Linked DNA regions of Homo sapiens: region 2 is linked to region 1. The links are contacts of gene promoters, found by promoter capture Hi-C in human tissues and cell types (Jung and others, 2019). All regions are on one chromosome and are shown on one strand. The core of a region is centred on a gene start or on the middle of the fragment in contact, and the rest is flanking DNA. Distances in the headings are between cores, read along the strand shown.

Region 1 (3,340 bases), core at 408-2,907:
TGAAAACAACCCCGTCAGCCCTTCCCAAGCTTGAGGCCGGCTGCCACGGAACCCCAGCCAGGGCTCCAGCGCTTCCTTCGCGGCTCCAGGGACGCAGTGCCCTGCAGGCATCGCCTGCTTGCAGCCGACTTGAGGGGCTCACGGAGTCCCCTGTGCCCGGGACGCGGCTAGATCCTGGAGAAAACCCCTCCACCCAGCCCCATCTGGCAGATAGACTCCAGATTAGCAACCCCGGAGTCACGTGAGCCAAATTTACGCCGTACCCGGGTTCCAAGGTTAATCACCCCTCGCCCCCTCCGCTTCCCGGCTCCGCCGATGTGCCTCCTCTTCAGGCGGGCCTGGGGTCTGCGTCTCCCAGGCAGCTTTGGGGGTGGAAAAAAGGAGGGGAGCGGGGGAGGGGAAAGGAACTTCTTTGTTCTTTCACCGGATAAACTCAGTTTACGGAATTCTCCAACACCCACTCCCACCCCCAGTGTGCAAATATCTCTGATCCTCACTTGGAGGGCGAACTACTTCATTCATTGAGACTTTTGTGTTCCTGGCCCTAGGCTAAGTATTATCTTGTAAGATCACATTTAAGTTTCCCAACAACCCCCTGAGGTAGGTGTTATTATCCCTATTTTACAGATAAAAAGAAATGAGGTACTGAGAATAGCTTGCCTAGGGTTTTACAATTAATAGATTGGCACAGTTAGGTTTTGAGCCCCAGCCTGTTTTGACCCAAAAGCCCTAATCTTTATAGCTGTTCTTTATATAGCAGGAATAAGAGTAATAACCACTCCTTGCAGAGCAATTACTATATTCCAGGCACGGTGCACGGTATTTCTCCAAACTTCTCTCAGAGGCAGGTTTGCCACTTACCCGTTATGTGGCCTCAGGAAGTTTCTTAACCTCTTTTTGACTCAATTGCCCTGTCTGCAAAATGAGGCTAAAAATATGGTTGTCATGAAGAGTAAAAGAATTAATATATGTAAAGCCTGGCACACATTCATCCCTGAAATTGTTGTTGCTGTTGTTTTTTAACCATCATCTCCATTTCACAGGTAAGGAACCTACCCTTGGAGAGGTGAAGGAGTGAATTAGTCCAGCTTGCCCGCTGCACACCTAGCTGCAGAGAGACCCCGCTCAGAAGCCGTGCGGGATGGGGGCCCCACAGGCAGGTGAATTGCACTTGGCAGGTGGGAGATGAGCTTCTCCGGGGTCGCTGCAGAACGCGCAGCAGCCCGGGAGGCCGTGAATGGTTATCAGTTACCACGCAAGGCTGGGGGTCCGCCCGCTCCGGATTTGCTCGTAGTGCGAGGGCCCCGGCGGTGTGCTGGGGGATCCCGCCGGGCCCACTTAGAAGCACTCGGGGGGACACACCTGTTCGGGACACCTGTGGACGGGGCCCGGCTGCACCGCAGGAGCCCCCCGCCCTGGCCCCCGCGCACACACAGCCCCCCAAGGCGCGGAGGCCGCCGGCCCTCCCGCCCGTCGCGCTCCAGGGCGGAGTTTCCTCCTCTGCTCATTGTTCACGGCCCAGCGCCCGCCCAGCCCCGGCCCCGGCCCCGCCCGGCCCGGCCGCCGCCGCTGGCGGGCTCCTGGGGGAGGGGGAGGGGCGGGGGCGGGGGCGGGGGCCGGCGCTGACGGGACGGGCCAGGAGTAGCCGCAGCCGCCAGTGGGGCCGCAGCCGCGCAGACGCCGCCCAGGACGCAGCCGCCGCCGCCGCCGCTCCTCTGCCACTGGCTCTGCGCCCCAGCCCGGCTCTGCTGCAGCGGCAGGGAGGAAGAGCCGCCGCAGCGCGACTCGGGAGCCCCGGGCCACAGCCTGGCCTCCGGAGCCACCCACAGGCCTCCCCGGGCGGCGCCCACGCTCCTACCGCCCGGACGCGCGGATCCTCCGCCGGCACCGCAGCCACCTGCTCCCGGCCCAGAGGCGACGACACGATGCGCTGCGCGCTGGCGCTCTCGGCGCTGCTGCTACTGTTGTCAACGCCGCCGCTGCTGCCGTCGTCGCCGTCGCCGTCGCCGTCGCCCTCCCAGAATGGTGAGTGGCCGGCCTGGGTTCCGCCGGGACTCCCACCGTGCCCATGTGCCCCCTGCCCGGCCGAGCTGCAGGGAAGCCCGGCGCGCCGCGTGGTCCGACCCCGAGCAGCCCTATCACCGCCGGGGTCACACACGGAGCCCTGACCTTGCACCATCCACGCCCCCTCCAAACTCCGCAGCGCGGCAGGTGCAGGGCCTGGGCGTAGATTCGTCTCCACTCTCCACTCGGGAGGAGTGGGCGGTGGATTCTGCCCGGGCAAACAGGGGCGCGCCGGTGCTAAGTGGGTTTGCATGGGAAAGAAAAGGGAGACCGCACCGCGAGGCTCCACGCTTCTGCGGGACTCTCGGGATCTGATTACACCTTTCCTTCGTGTTGGAGGGAATGAGGGGCTGTAGTGTGTATTCGTTAATTCCAGGCAAAGAGGCAGGCGAGAGGCTCCCGAGGAAGTCCCTGAAGCAGGTGACAAGCCTCCAGCCACGGCCCACGCGGGCGATGTACTTACCCGTTTGCAGAGGTTTTTTCTAAGTAATGTGTGCAGGCTCAACTCCTTGAGCCCGTGCTGGGGCAGGTACAGAGTCGTAAGTGGACCTTCCACAGTCCCAGAGTCACCTGGCTGAGTGGGGGTCCTACCTCCGTGTCCCTAAAACAATCGCTTCTTAGTGCGTGGCTACGATGGTGAGACCCCCCTCGAATCCTCTTGTTCAAACGGGAACTTGTTCAAACGGGAACTTCTCTCTCGTAGAATAGGATTGGGCTGCATTTTAGACACACCTTAGAAAATGTACCTGTCTCTCATGAAACACCTGCACCTCAGAAACATCCCCTCCCTGTTTCTTTTCAAGGTGAAATGTTACTCTTTCCCTTTTGGGGGACAGGCGATGGCTGCAAACTCAACCAGAACAGGTGTTCTTAAGCCCCTAGGGAACAGCCAGAGTCAGCTCAGCCCCACGGGAGAGGTGCATTTCTCATTCTCTTTTGCCCACCTGAGCACATGTCTGCAGGAAGAGCTGAGGTGGTGTGATCACCCTAGGGCCAGGAGGACTGCGGGGACAGCACAGACAGGGTAGGGATTCTGCTGTGAGCAGGTGCCGGCAGTTTGGGACTGGACTCTAAGGGGCCAGGGGAGATGGAAGGGCAGTACAGTCTCTCCTCTGCACCGCAGGAAACCTTTGGTAGTGGGCAGGCGCTGGCACTCAGGGAGCAGGCAGGCGTGGGCATCCTCCTGTGGCCGGCGGGAGACTCCACCAGCCTGACTAGAAAGGGAAGGTCCCGGCGGGGGGAAGAATGTGTGTCCCTGGAAGAGGGGCTGCAGTGT
Region 2 (3,340 bases), core at 399-2,898, 580 kb after region 1:
CGGATTACTTTGTTTTGTGGTATCCAGAGTTTGAAAGGATTGTGAGAAGATAATAAAGCAGACTTGAAGGCTGGTGGATGCCGCAGTGTATCTGTCAAAATTATTTGAAAAAGTCACTCTCTAGGATTTCATTTTGATTTCTTTTTTAATTTTCTAAGATTATTTTTAATGATCCATAATGTGTTTTTTTCATTAGATAAATAGAACCCACACAATAATAAAAATTTTCTGATGTTTTCTTCTTAGCCTTACATTAGAGGACATGAATCCTGCTTTGGACATCTGTTCCTCAAATACATTCATTCTTCTTTGACTCACCATTTACTTTGAAGGATAATTAAACCAGTCCAGTATTTTTTTTTTTTTTTTTTGAGATGGAGTCTCGCACTGTCACCTGGGCTGGAGTGCAATGGTGCAATCTTGGCTCACTGCAATCTTCACTTCCCGGGTTCAAGCAATTCTCCTGCCTCAGCCTCCCGAGTAGCTGGCATTACAGGTGCCCGCCACCACACCCAGTTAATTTTTTGTATTTTTAGTAGAGACGGGGTTTCACCATCTTGGCCAGGCTGGTCTCGAACTCCTGACCTCGTGATCCGCCCACCTCAGCTTCCAAAGTGCTAAGATTACAGGCGTGAACCACTACACCTGGCCAACCAGTCCAGTATTCTATGGTCTTGTGCATTTATAGCATTTGGGTTAGGAAACAATTAGTGCATCATCTCTTCCTAGAAAAGGGTCTAGAAAGGCCCGAGGCGATGCAGTAGTACTTTCCTGGCAGTCACATCATTTCGAAGCAGCTGAAAGCCAGTCCTAGGAAAATGACCAAGGGGTTAGACTAGTAGGTGATCTAGAGCCCTCTATAAATTGAGGAAAAACAAAAAAGAGAATAACCATAGACAGCTAATTAAAAATCCTGTCTCGGAAAAACTAAATAAGCAGCTGCTGTATAAGAGCCACAAAGACGTACTCTTTCTGCCTTTCCCAAGGTAGCAACGTGCTATGTAGCTCAACATCACCAGTGTCCTGAAACTGCTCCAACGTTGATCTTGCATTTGCCATTGAACTGAGTTCATTCTCTTTCCTTTCGCCTTTTGAAACACTCTACTACTTGTTCTCTTGCCTCTCTGATTATTTCTTCCAAGTAATTTTATAAGCTACACTAAAACTTGGGTTAGCAATGGGTATTTTTCCCCCCATTTCGTTCTTGGTTGATCAAGTCAAAGTATTATCTCAGCATAGGCAGAGTCCGGTGCTTGGGAAGTGGTATTAAAGAGATTTCAGATAAATACTTCAAAGCCACTTCATTGGAATCCCCAATTTAAAAAAAGTTAAGAAATCATAAAATGAGTCTTTAACTAGATTTTGGTGGTTGTCATTTGGAAGAAATTCTAAGAGTGAATTCCAGCCTGTTTCCTGATTTCCTGTTGTCCTTATTTACTCCTAGTACATGGTACATGACTGGAATCCAGTAGAAAAGCCCCAGAATGTGTATTTTAGTCCCTACAGCCAACAGCTTTGAGAATGTACAGAAAAGGAGGCTAAATCCTTGCCCCTGCTGTGGCTTCAATTCATAAGCTTTTGTCTCTTCTCTGTTCCATTTCAAAAGCTAAAGCTAAGTGTCACAGGACAAGATTGTAGTGGCTTCAGAGAATGGTAGGCTTGAGAAAAAGACTATTGATGATTCAAGGGGATAAATTATGGTAGAAATTTAAACAGTATTTGGGGACATAAAATACTGTTTTTGAGTTGAGTAACCCCAAACAAGAAGAAAAACATGTATTTAAAAAAATATTTTATATTTTTCCCATTTTTTTCTGGCCATTTTTCTTTATTCATTTTCTGAGAGGGAAATGGAAGCGAAAATAGAAACTATTATTTCTTTTTTCAAGACAACCAGGTCGATCATGAAAAGTGTAAGAGGTCACCATCAGGTAGCTAAGCACTTCTTTTAAACCTATGAATAAAGGAAAAAACACAAGATGTTAAATAGTAAGTGTGTATGGTTGCTAGTTTTGAACTTCAGTGCTTAACAATGTCAAAGTCAAAGTGTTCCTGTGTTGCTGTGAAATAAGTACCAATACATGCAGAGTAGCTACTATTGTTGCCACATGCAAAGAAAAGACAGCACACTCAGTAAATTCTTTTAGTTGTGTTTCTTATAGTTAAGGAATGTTGATCTATTTTATGTTTTTGTGGTGTAACTTAACATGGCAAAGAAAACAATCATGTTAATAACATTTTGCGATTATTTTCCATATGCCAAGCGTTGGCTGAAAAACATAAGGGTAAGTACTACAGGTACTATCATTCCAGTTTTATAGAATGTGCATGCTGTAAGAAAGACAAAATTATATTAGTGTATGAATGAACACCATTACCTACCCCTGTTGGGAATCAATGATGATAATCTCATTAGAATATTGTGCTAATTGGCTGCAAATAATATGTCAGCAATATTTACAGCTTTAAAAAGCTTTTGGTTTTAGGTGGTTGATTAGCAGGGATGGCATTACCCGGAAAATACAACTAGGTTATAGTAGTATTAAAAATAACTCAGGTTTTTCTAAGTTTGAAACATTAATATTTTTTATGCTAAAAGGTTTTAAGAAAACACTTGCAATTTACAGCGCCTTGTTTAGTCCTCAGCGATAGAATAGTGTAATTTTAAAAAAACCAAAGTAGGGCCAGGTGTGGTGGCTCAAACTGTAATCCCACCACTTTGGGAGGCTGAGGCGGGTGGATCACCTGAGGTCAGGAGTTCAAGATCAGCCTGGCCAACATGGTGACACCCTGTCTTTACTAAAAATACAAAAATTAGCCAGGTATACTGGCCTGCGCCTGTAATCCCAGCTCAGGAGACTGAGGCAGGAGAATCGCATGAACCTAGGAGGCAGAGGTTGCAATGAGCTGAGACTGCACCACTGCACTCCAGCCTGGGCGGCAGAGTGTCTCAAAAAAAAAAAAAAAAAAGTAGTATTCCCATTTGAAATGTGTATAATCAACATGATACGCCCATATCAGTATTTCAGGTATGCCAACACCAATGATTGGGAAAAAATATATATAGAAGTGGAATTGCTGGATCATATGGTAGCAATTTTTTATTTCTGGAAGAACCTCCATGCTGTTTTCTGTAACAGCTGCATTTTACATTCTCACCAATTGTGTAAAAGGGTTCCAATTTCTCCATATCCCACCACTATTTATCTTTTGTTTTTGTTTTTCTAATAGGCATCCTAAAAGGTGTGAGGTGACATGTTAAGATTTTGATTTGCATTTCTCTTAAGATTAGTGATGTTGAGCACCTTTTCATATACCCGATGGCCATTTGTATGCTTTT

The links. The method cuts DNA at HindIII sites, captures the fragments that hold promoters and counts their contacts. A contact is called where the count stands out against the background at its distance.
Region 2: a contact is called between a fragment that was not itself captured here and the fragment with the promoter of PODXL in region 1, in 1 of the 25 tissues and cell types used here (dorsolateral prefrontal cortex).

The regions. Positions count from the first base shown.
Region 1 is chr7:131,554,945-131,558,284 of GRCh38, reverse strand. PODXL (podocalyxin like) reads left to right here and starts at 1,657. Exons shown (of 9, transcript NM_001018111.3): 1 at 1,657-2,025. The coding sequence starts at 1,926. RefSeq lists an enhancer at 722-1,269 and silencers at 1,237-1,356, 1,387-1,446, 1,527-2,036. The HindIII fragment of the contact is 6,040 bases long and covers 1-3,340 here.
Region 2 is chr7:130,977,453-130,980,792 of GRCh38, reverse strand. It overlaps LINC-PINT (long intergenic non-protein coding RNA, p53 induced transcript), which reads left to right. Exons shown (of 8, transcript NR_170176.1): 5 at 2,265-2,285. Among named protein-coding and RNA genes, the nearest start is that of LINC00513, 66 kb to the right of the region's middle. The HindIII fragment of the contact is 3,455 bases long and covers 1-3,340 here.